Regions from separate parts of the Homo sapiens genome. Here all the other regions are linked to region 3. Evidence: promoter capture Hi-C in human tissues and cell types (Jung and others, 2019). All regions are on one chromosome and are shown on one strand. Each heading gives the region's core, a stretch centred on a gene start or on the middle of the fragment in contact. The rest is flanking DNA. Distances are from core to core; before and after follow the strand shown.

What was found. The method cuts DNA at HindIII sites, captures the fragments that hold promoters and counts their contacts. A contact is called where the count stands out against the background at its distance.
Region 1: a contact is called between a fragment that was not itself captured here and the fragment with the promoter of EMB in region 3, in 1 of the 25 tissues and cell types used here (dorsolateral prefrontal cortex).
Region 2: a contact is called between a fragment that was not itself captured here and the fragment with the promoter of EMB in region 3, in 1 of the 25 tissues and cell types used here (lymphoblastoid cells).

What each region holds. Positions count from the first base shown.
Region 1 is chr5:50,856,192-50,859,594 of GRCh38, reverse strand. No RefSeq gene overlaps it. Among named protein-coding and RNA genes, the nearest start is that of LINC02106, 110 kb to the left of the region's middle. The HindIII fragment of the contact is 3,727 bases long and covers 1-3,403 here.
Region 2 is chr5:50,726,325-50,729,453 of GRCh38, reverse strand. The region is part of intron 2 of PARP8 (poly(ADP-ribose) polymerase family member 8); the gene reads right to left. Among named protein-coding and RNA genes, the nearest start is that of PARP8, 61 kb to the right of the region's middle. The HindIII fragment of the contact is 3,467 bases long and covers 1-3,129 here.
Region 3 is chr5:50,439,857-50,442,948 of GRCh38, reverse strand. It overlaps EMB (embigin), which reads left to right and starts at 1,661. Exons shown (of 9, transcript NM_198449.3): 1 at 1,661-1,909. The coding sequence starts at 1,798. RefSeq lists silencers at 1,718-1,847, 1,928-2,117. The HindIII fragment of the contact is 6,914 bases long and covers 1-2,684 here.

The sequences.
Region 1 (3,403 bases), core at 353-2,852, 420 kb before region 3:
TTAGATTCTCAAGGGATCCAGGACCTAAAGATATTTAAACCATGGTAATATCACCAATGATACAGTGACTTACGTTGATGCCATATGCTGAATTAACTCCTTTGAGAAGTTTTGTCCTCATTTGAGTTAAGATGGGACATGGTAGATAAGCTAGAATAAAGATACATTCATTTAAGAAGCTGGAAATTGTATCATTAAAATTCCTTATTAAGTATTCTAGTGAGGAAGCTGAAATATAGTGGCATGTATAGCTGATCAGGAGCCAGTGAGGAAACCCCAGGGACAGGTGGCTGAAAGGATTTAATAGCACAGAAATTGTATACATCAGGGTCCAGGAGGTGAAGGAGATCTCTTTACATGAACAGTCTACAGAAATCTTGAGTAAGGCTTTGGATTTCCACAGTGCATTGACCTAGGCATTTAAGCCAATCATATCTAAATTCAAATGGCAACAAAATATTTTTAAAAATCTTTCAAAGCAGGTGATGCTACAGTCTCTGTGCTTCACAAATCCAAGTTATCATTATTGGCTACCACTCCTCCATATGCACAGGCAATAAGTCAGGTATTCCTTCCAGTAATTGGGGCTACAATGTAAACTTAGCAAAGCTTCCAGATTAACACATTTGTAAAAACAAGACTTCCTAATAACCTGTCATCTGCTTTCCCAATTTCTCTATAATTTTAGTCTGTAGATGACATTCTTGTGGAGTTTTAGGTGACTGTCATATTGCAGCCATCTGGCAGCCTGTTTAAGAAGCACAACTCTGACATTATAAGATGATGAATCAGTGGTTAAAAACAAAACAAAAGGTGGTTGATGTTTATTGTAATACAATCTTATAAAATCTGAGAGTATTAACTAATTAGTATTTATAAAAGCATCTTCAAACTGAAATATCCATTACCATTGAAAATCATTTTAACTAGATAAAATATTTCCCCAAGTTGTTTTTTTGTGACACAAAATAAAATAGTGGACATTCAATGATTATAAAATGCTTGTTTGCTTTTAGAATGGGCATATCATGGATATCAGGGTTTTTTGTGCGTGCTTATGTAATTTCCTTGCTAGTAATTTTTCAGTAGTTCTTCATGATAAATCTAAACTCCTTAGGTTGGACATGAATTCTTTTGTAGTCTAAACCTGATCATCTTTTAATTTAACTCCCATAATACTCAGACAGTAATTTTATATCCTACTTGTGAGGAAATACTAAGTAGGGTCCTGAGCTCTCATACCTTTCTCTTTTTTGTCTTTTTGTTCGACTCATGTTTTCCAATACTTGAAAAGCATTGCTTGTTGTTCACCTGAAAATTTCTTCTTCAAAATTCAGATCTTCCTAAGTTCTCAAACACACCAAGAATTTTTTTCTTCTATGTCCCTGTAGTGCATATCCATTTAATCATGTATAATGTGTATGTATTATAACAACCTGTACAACTATTTCACCCCATTTATCTATTTGTTCATTTAAATATGTGTTAGGGCAGGGTGTGGTGGCTCACACCTGTAATCCTAGCACTTTGGGAGGCAGAGGCAGATGGATCACTTGAGGTCAGGAGTTTGAGACCAGCCTGGCCAACATGGTGAAACCCCATCTTTAATAAAAATACAAAAATTAGCCAGGCATGGTGGCTGCACCTGTAATCCCAGCTACTCGAGAGACTGAGGCAGGAGACTTGCTTGAACCTGGGAGGCAGAGGTTGCAGTGAGCCGAGATTACACCCCTGCACTCCAGCCTGGGTGACAGAGTGAGACTGTCTCAAAAAGAAAAAAATAATTATATATATATGTGTGTGTGTGTGGTAGACTCACAAATAAACATGTGGTAGACTCTGTTCTAGGCACAGAAAATACAGCAGTTATCTTAATCAGGTTCTAAAATAGAAAGTATTTTGAATATTTACAACAGAGGGGGTTTAAAGCGGAGTATTGGTAATTCAGGTGATGGAGGAGACTAGAATCCAAACAGGGCCCATGGAAGCAGCCAGAAGTTAATAATAGGAAATCACCAGCATCCCAAGACTGGGGAAGCTGAAAGAGGTGATGCTGCAAGAGCCAGGAGCTGTGGTCACCCTTCATAAACTGGAACCATGACTACCTGCCTATGAAAGCTACTAGCCTTTGAAAGCTACCTGAAACCATGTGGGAGAAACAGCTTCTATTGGAGAGGCCATCACAGGAACAAACTGAGGGAGAAATACCCTGGCTGCTCCTTTCTCCTGTTCTTCAATCAATCAGTCCTTTCTATTGTTATTAGTTAATTTGGAAACCCTCGATGAAAAGAGCCTGAGAAGTGTCATCTGTAGGTTTGTAACTCGCAGTGGTACAGAGCACAGCAGAGGAAGAGTGCAAAATGGATTCTAAGGCAAAAATGCCCAGGTTTGGAACCGTGGTGAAAAATCAGAAACATTTTCTCAGCCTTCACAAAACAGTCTAAGCATTTCATTCTATTTCATCTCTGTATTCCTAACTCCTTTTGTGGCAATTGCACATTATAAGTGGCCAATATACATCTTGATTACCTTAATAGATAAATGGAAACAGGTACAAAATAAATAGTCATTTTGATCTCACGGTTCCTTCCACAACTCTGACAAACTGCTTCACAGGAAGACACTTTGAATGGCAGTTTTATCACATGATGTCAAATAAGCAGAACATAGCTTTCACTTCCCTCGTGTGGGCATTTGAGTTCTCTATACATATTGAATTTTCTCTGGTGTTTTGCTTTAGGCCTCATAAATCTCATATCATTCCAAGGCTTCATAGTCCTGAGGATTATCAGTGTCACTGTATTCCAGGTGATGTAAATTGTTGTGACAATTTCCAGGTTTCATTCTGTTGTATTTTGCAGGACAGAGCCTGTCCCAACAGCCCTTCTTGCAGATGTTGCATTCAACACTCTATGAGAGGATCACTGGATTTCCCTTGTGCAATCTGGGCATGAGATGGGCATTGGAATTGATCGCAAGCTTTTCTGGAGCAGACATTTCCAAGATTCTGTTGAACTTGTTGGCAAACTCTCTGAGTGTTATGAGTAGCATTTAGATTAGCAGCTGTTCCTCTTATTCCTATAAAGATTTTCTCCCTGGCCAATGTCTTTTTCTGAGCCATTCTAAATGCCAAAATTGATTCAAAAAATATGGATGGAGAGATTGTATGAACACTGCATACAAAATGATTCAGTTCAGTAAACATTTTGGCATGTGGATTCTGTGCTTGGAACTGTGCTGAGCAGAGGGTGAGGGAGACAAAATCACAGAGCAGTTAAAAATGTGAGCTTGAATTGGATGGTTTTGATTCCACTGTTCACTGAATATGTAACCTAGGGCAAATTGCTGTCTTTTTGCATTGGTCTTCTAATACATAAAAAGGGGATAATAATGGTATCAACCT
Region 2 (3,129 bases), core at 193-2,692, 290 kb before region 3:
TTGGTCCAAATACCTTTCATTACATTTTATCATTTCAACACTTGTTTAATTCAGTTTGTACAGCATATTTAGCAACTCATCAGAAATCAATTTAAAACAATTATGCAATGTATTAAATAGCCAAGTGTGAAAAAAAAGTTTTTTCCCCTGTATGCTCTTTCCTTAGCAAAGCAAATTCTGTGAAAGGAGGCATATCTCACTCCATTTGGCATTACTTTTGCAAATTGATTAGTTATCCAGAGTTCCTATAACAATGAGATGACCCTACTAAAAACTATTTTTACTTAGTTCATAGTCACCAAAGCAGTAGGAAAACAAAAATTTATCTAGTTTTATTTTGTTAGGTGAATGAGATTTTCACTTTAGAAGAGGAGCAATTTTGAACAACCGCACACTAATGTGTTCCATAAGACTGGACCATAAAATTATCACATATCTAAGTAAATTTATGAGAAAAAATGTTTAACTCTCAGTCAGTTCCAATAAAAATTAGATAATAAGTTGCCTTTTTCAACATCAACAAACATCTTTGATTTGTCTCATCACATTTTTAAGTATTTTTCAGGTACATATATATCTCCAATATAAAATATGGAAAAACTTAGTCTAAAATATTTATTATACAATTTCATTTTAAGAGTGACATCAAAATTATACTTTATACATTATGCAACATTTTAAACTTTGATGGAGAAGTTATCAACTCAAAAACAGCTAACTTCCTTGATATTAAAATACTTTAAATATTAAAATATTAGTTTTGTTTTCTCTTTGGGACATATTTCTAATAGTGGTCTCAAAAAAGGAAAGGAAAGACAACGAATTCTGGGAGAGCAGTAACTGACTTATTTGGGTGCCAAAAAAAAAAAATTCTGTGTAGTTCTTTAGGAACTGAGGAAACTATGGGACCTTAATTTAAACGTGTGATTCCTATGAAAACAAGGGCCCACCATAACAATAGACAGATTGATAAACTGCAAATTAAGTTGCACTCTGAATGTCATAGAGACAAAAAAATGAAAATGATGTCAATTTTAAAAGATAAATCAAAATGCTATTAAAACCTTCTCAAAACTCAAAATGTTAAGATCAACAGAATCATTTTTATGAGCTAATTCACAGATAAATTCAAGTCAGTCTAATTGCAATAGCATCAATTCATCACTTATACCCAACTCTAAAATTACAATATCAATGAAGCTTCTGCACTGGATGTTGTCAATTAATAAAGGGAACAGGGAAATGCCTTAGAAATATTCATTAGAATTGATAGGAAATACTTAAGCCATCATTTACTTCTACCTAGAAAAATGACACAGAAGCAATCAATGCTGGCACTCCCAAGGTCTCGGCACTGGCAAGAATTTTGAATTCAAAAATTAACTCTCACTGATCATTAGTAGTTGGAACTCACACATTCATTCAACCAATTATGAAGTAAATGATTACTGAAGACCCACTCTGTGCCAACACAGGTGGAAAGTAAAAATAGACAGGGGCCTTGAATTCAGAAGTTTCTAGTCCAGCAAGGGAAAACACAATTAAAGTATCACCCAAATAAATGAAAATTATAGTTGTAATTTTCAACTCTGAAGGCGGACCACACCATGTATTGTGGCATCACATAAGGGCCCCATAACTTGACAAAGGGTACCAGGAAAGTTTCCTGCAGGATGCGATGATGGGACAAAAATACGTGGATGAGTAAAAGAAAATAATTGCGGAATTTGAATATACCATCCTCATTCTTCAAAATTTTCACTTTTTCAGCCTTATAGTTCCAAATTAAATGTAGAATCCAAACTTCCCTTTAGTGGTTATTATATTTTATTTCTCTATGTAGCCCCTGGCACAGTGGAAGGTATAGACCATAACTGACATTCACACATTCTGTCAAAATTAACTAAAAACAAGCCTACAAGCCATGTACATTAACAGAAGTATTTTACTTTTGAACAATATAGTCCACACGTACTCTGGCCAAAAGCTGGATCAAAGCAGTTGACATACTACCTAAACAAAGAACAAAAATATGAAAACAGGGACAAAGTTTGAGTGGATCCATGTCCATTTTTTCAAAAGAACACCAAGTCCGGGTGGGAAGTGGGAGCAGGAGCGGGGACTGGGTACACTCCAACAACAGAAGGGAGTAGTTGGCACGCAAAAGCCAGGTCTGACTCACAACGTGTCTAAATGTGCCTGCAGTTCTTAGTACAAGGAAGTATCTCAAATGTTCATCTAAAGAAGGGTAAAGGAAGTCATAAAAATACTACAGCCCACTGATAGGTAGAAAACTAAAGATAAAATGATTACCAAAAACTATTATCAGAGCTATGCCCTGTCCCTCACAAAATACTACTATACAAAGGAATTGCCTGTGTTTTTCTCACAACCTTCAGAAAGACCCTGGAAAATTTCAGATGGTTTTGATTTATGACTGTAAATGTCATCTTTACCAGATAGCATGAGATGGCCTAGTCCTCAAATGAGAGAGTAGTTCCTAACGACACAATCTTTGGGTTATTTCCACAAAAAGAATTAATATAGGAAACAGAGAGATGTGTTATTCTAAAATACAAATTTCCTCTACAATATTTCCACCCAACCTACCAAATAAAGCAGTCTTGCTTTAGAAGCAAGCAGAATGGCCTGTAGCATGAGGACAGAGATGATCCACAGTTGACAGGCCCTAGACCGTCTCCTTTGTACTTGCATATGACCAGCCTGCACAATTCCCAGTGGTTTTGCCCTTCTCAGAGAATATTCAGGAGCCAGCAAGTCTACATGAGACCAGTGGGCAAAACAGCTCCCTTGTGGGATTTCCCACACTGGGGTAAAGGAATTTCCTCAATCATCGCTGTGCTCAAGACAACTTTGTTAAATGGGGCTTTGTTCCCAGTGGATTTTTAATTGACACATCATTGGCAATATACAATATGCTTTACAGTGGTTAGTGATGCTAATCATGTGGCTAAACAAGAAAAAGCAGCTTCCCCTCTTAGAGTTCGTGATCAGATCTGAGGTACTCCTATCAATAAAAACATATTTGTAAAATGCGGGAAAAAAAGTAAAGCTTGAAAAGTAGCTAATGAACTAGATTACACATACATCCTCCATTGGATAGATTTT
Region 3 (3,092 bases), core at 412-2,911:
AGTAAGTTTTTCTGGTCATAAATAGGCTGATTCAACTGAAAAAAATGTTTCTTTAAGAAGGGTGAATTTGTGTCTAAGGATTTTATGAGACTAACTGGGAAAAGTCAGTCAGAGTTTAGTTTGAGGTGAGAAGTGCTTACTGTTGACACTCTACCTAATTATAGGGAAATGTGTGCAGTTAGTCCTGAGACCAGATGCAGGGTTGAAAGAAAGAGGTGTGATGTAGCAGCCATTGATTAGGCAATTTGGGTTTAGCAAGCCCAGTCAATGCCCTCAGAGGGTCAACAGTGTATAAGATTTAGTCCTTGAAGGCATCTTTTAAAGTTTCATTCAGAAGATTTTAATAATTTTGACCATAATTTTCTGAGAAGAGGCTTTTCTGAGATTTGTCATTCACAGATAAACAGTTGTCTAATTTGTGTGTGTGTGTGTGTACATGTGTGCATGCGTGCATTTGTGCATGTGTGCCTATCTAGCCTCTTTTGAACACAATGGTAGATTGGCACCTGGTAGATAATATTGTTGAATGAATTGTATTATTCATATTATCTCACTGCCAATTTGAAGAATCTACATTCTGTTTCCAAAGTTTTGTGCATATAATACTAAACCAGAAACAGACGTGTTTTAGTAATACGTACCAATTACAAATTAACCATTCCTGCCTGGAATAAACACAGGTTTTGTTAAATAGCTCAATTTTCAAAATTTGTCTCATGTTATTTCCAATCCTTTTTTTTTTAACGCCGATATATTTTGAATTTACGAATGTGAAAGCTGAACTTCAAAAAAATAAAGGGAGAGGAAACAAAGCTCGTGAAAAATTTTAAAAATATCTTTTAATGCGTTATAACATCCTGGAGAGAAATCAAATCAATGTGTTTCAATGTTACAATATAGATTTCTCCTCCCCTCCCGGATAAAGCACTAATTTATTTAATTTGGTTCAGAGCACTGAATATTCCAAGCTACAGCCTTGTGGGTAAGAGCATTATCTTAAAGAGTGTTCGGATTTAACAAAGGTCAATGTCTTGTGCAGTTTACATAGTATCTACTCTCAGTAGCTTTTGCTTCTTGAGCTCTAGGTGGCTCCTCAGAAGCTGTTAGGCTTAACAAACAAAAATAAAGTAAAATCAGACACGGTATGGGGCCTTGGGACTCTAAAACCTTCATCCGGAGAAAATCAGTTAAGCCTTCAGAGACTAGAAGAGAGAATGTGTGTGATTGGTAGGCAAAGCAAAGAAAGATTAACACAAGTTGTCTGGCAGCTGGATAAAACCTTACACCTGCGCAAAAATAAGCCTCCCTCGTAAGAAAGCCCAAAGATGTCCGGGGTCCGGGAGGAGAAAAGTGTTTCTCATCTGTCCCATCAAAGCAAATTAGTGAAACCTGCCTCAGGTGAAGTGCAAAGGCCAGTCTGTAGGCAGAGTTTCGACCTCTCCCCACGAGATTGGCTAGACATCACCTGCCCAAGCTCTCTCCCGACCTGCTAGAGCCGAGAGGGCGGAGGCCGGAGAGGCTGCAGCCGGGAAGTAGCACCGCCACCGCACATCCGGGAACGCCAGCAGCCGGCTGAGGGCTGCATAACTGATGGAGGGCCGGGCGCGGTAAGAGCGTCTCGGGGGAGTGGGGCAAGGCGGCCGGGCCCCTCCCATTCCGCCTTTTCTTCAGCGTCCTACCCGCGGCACTGGCTGCGAGCGCCGGGCCACCTGCGAGTGTGCGCAGGGACTCTGGACACCCGCGGCGGCGAGCTGAGGGAGCAGTCTCCACGAGGACCCAGGCGGACCCTCTGGCGCCATGCGCGCCCTCCCCGGCCTGCTGGAGGCCAGGGCGCGTACGCCCCGGCTGCTCCTCCTCCAGTGCCTTCTCGCTGCCGCGCGCCCAAGCTCGGCGGACGGCAGTGCCCCAGGTGTGATGGGTACAGGGTCCAGGGTAGGGAGGGCGGAGGGCGCGCGAGGCTCGGGTCCCCGCGGGCAGAGGGCATCGCCGGCGCGCCGGGCAAGGGTGGCGGGGAGAGGCGCGGGGATGCTGGTAAGGGCGGGTGGGAGAGTCGGCGGCGGCCTCCCATTAGCTACGTTTGTGTCACCTAAGCTGAACCCTGAAACTGCTGCGGCTCGCGTTCCTGCGCTCTTTGGGGCGAGTCTTGAACGAACAGCGCCCCGCGAGTCGGGCGCGTAGGTAACAGGGCAGAGTCTGGTTTTTCCTAGGAAGAAGGCAGTGGGGTGTGTGGGTGGTTGCAGGGACCAGCTAGCGACTTGGCTTGGGCAAATATGGCATGAATTTTGAAAGCCACATTTCCCCAAGGCCTACTCCCTTTTCTTGATTCGAGAGTAAGGCTCGAGTATCACCTCCTTCCCTCCTCTTGGCAGGTGGGTTGGCTTTGAGGATTTTTTTTTTTTTTTTTTTTTTTTTTTTGAGACGGAGTTTTACTCTTGTTGCCCAGGCTGGAGTGCAATGGCGTGATCTCGGCTCACCGCAACCTCCTCCTCCCGGGTTCAAGCGATTCTCCTCTGTCAGCCTCCAGAGTAGCTGGGATTACAGGCATGCGCCACCACGCCGGGCTAATTTTATATTTTTAGTAGAGACTGGGCTTCTCCACATTGGTCAGTCTGGTCTCGAACTCCCAACCTGAGGTGATCCGCCCGCTTCGGCCTCCCAAAGTGCTGGGATTACAGGCGTGAGCCACCTCACCTTGCCGAGGATGTTTTTTTAGAGCTGAGTAGGGGAAAAAACATCATAACCAACTAGCCAACCAAAGATCCACAACTTACAGGATAACGTGTGTGTATCTTCATTTTACACCGTGGTCTTTGAAAACAAAATGTGTGTGTGCATGTGTGTGTGTGTATGTGTGAGATTTTTGCTTGTTGTTTTATTGTTTAAGACACTTTGACAGAGGGATTACGTGCAAAACATTAACAAAGCCAACACGAAAGTTGCCATTCTACCTTCACCTGTTTATAATTACTTTTCATATTGAAAGGATTCCATCCAACCTATTGCAAGTTTCTGTGTCATAAATGTTACCAGCCAGTAAGGGTAATAAAAGACCACCTCTCAAGCTGGTAAATATTGGCCACCAGTAACTAAAA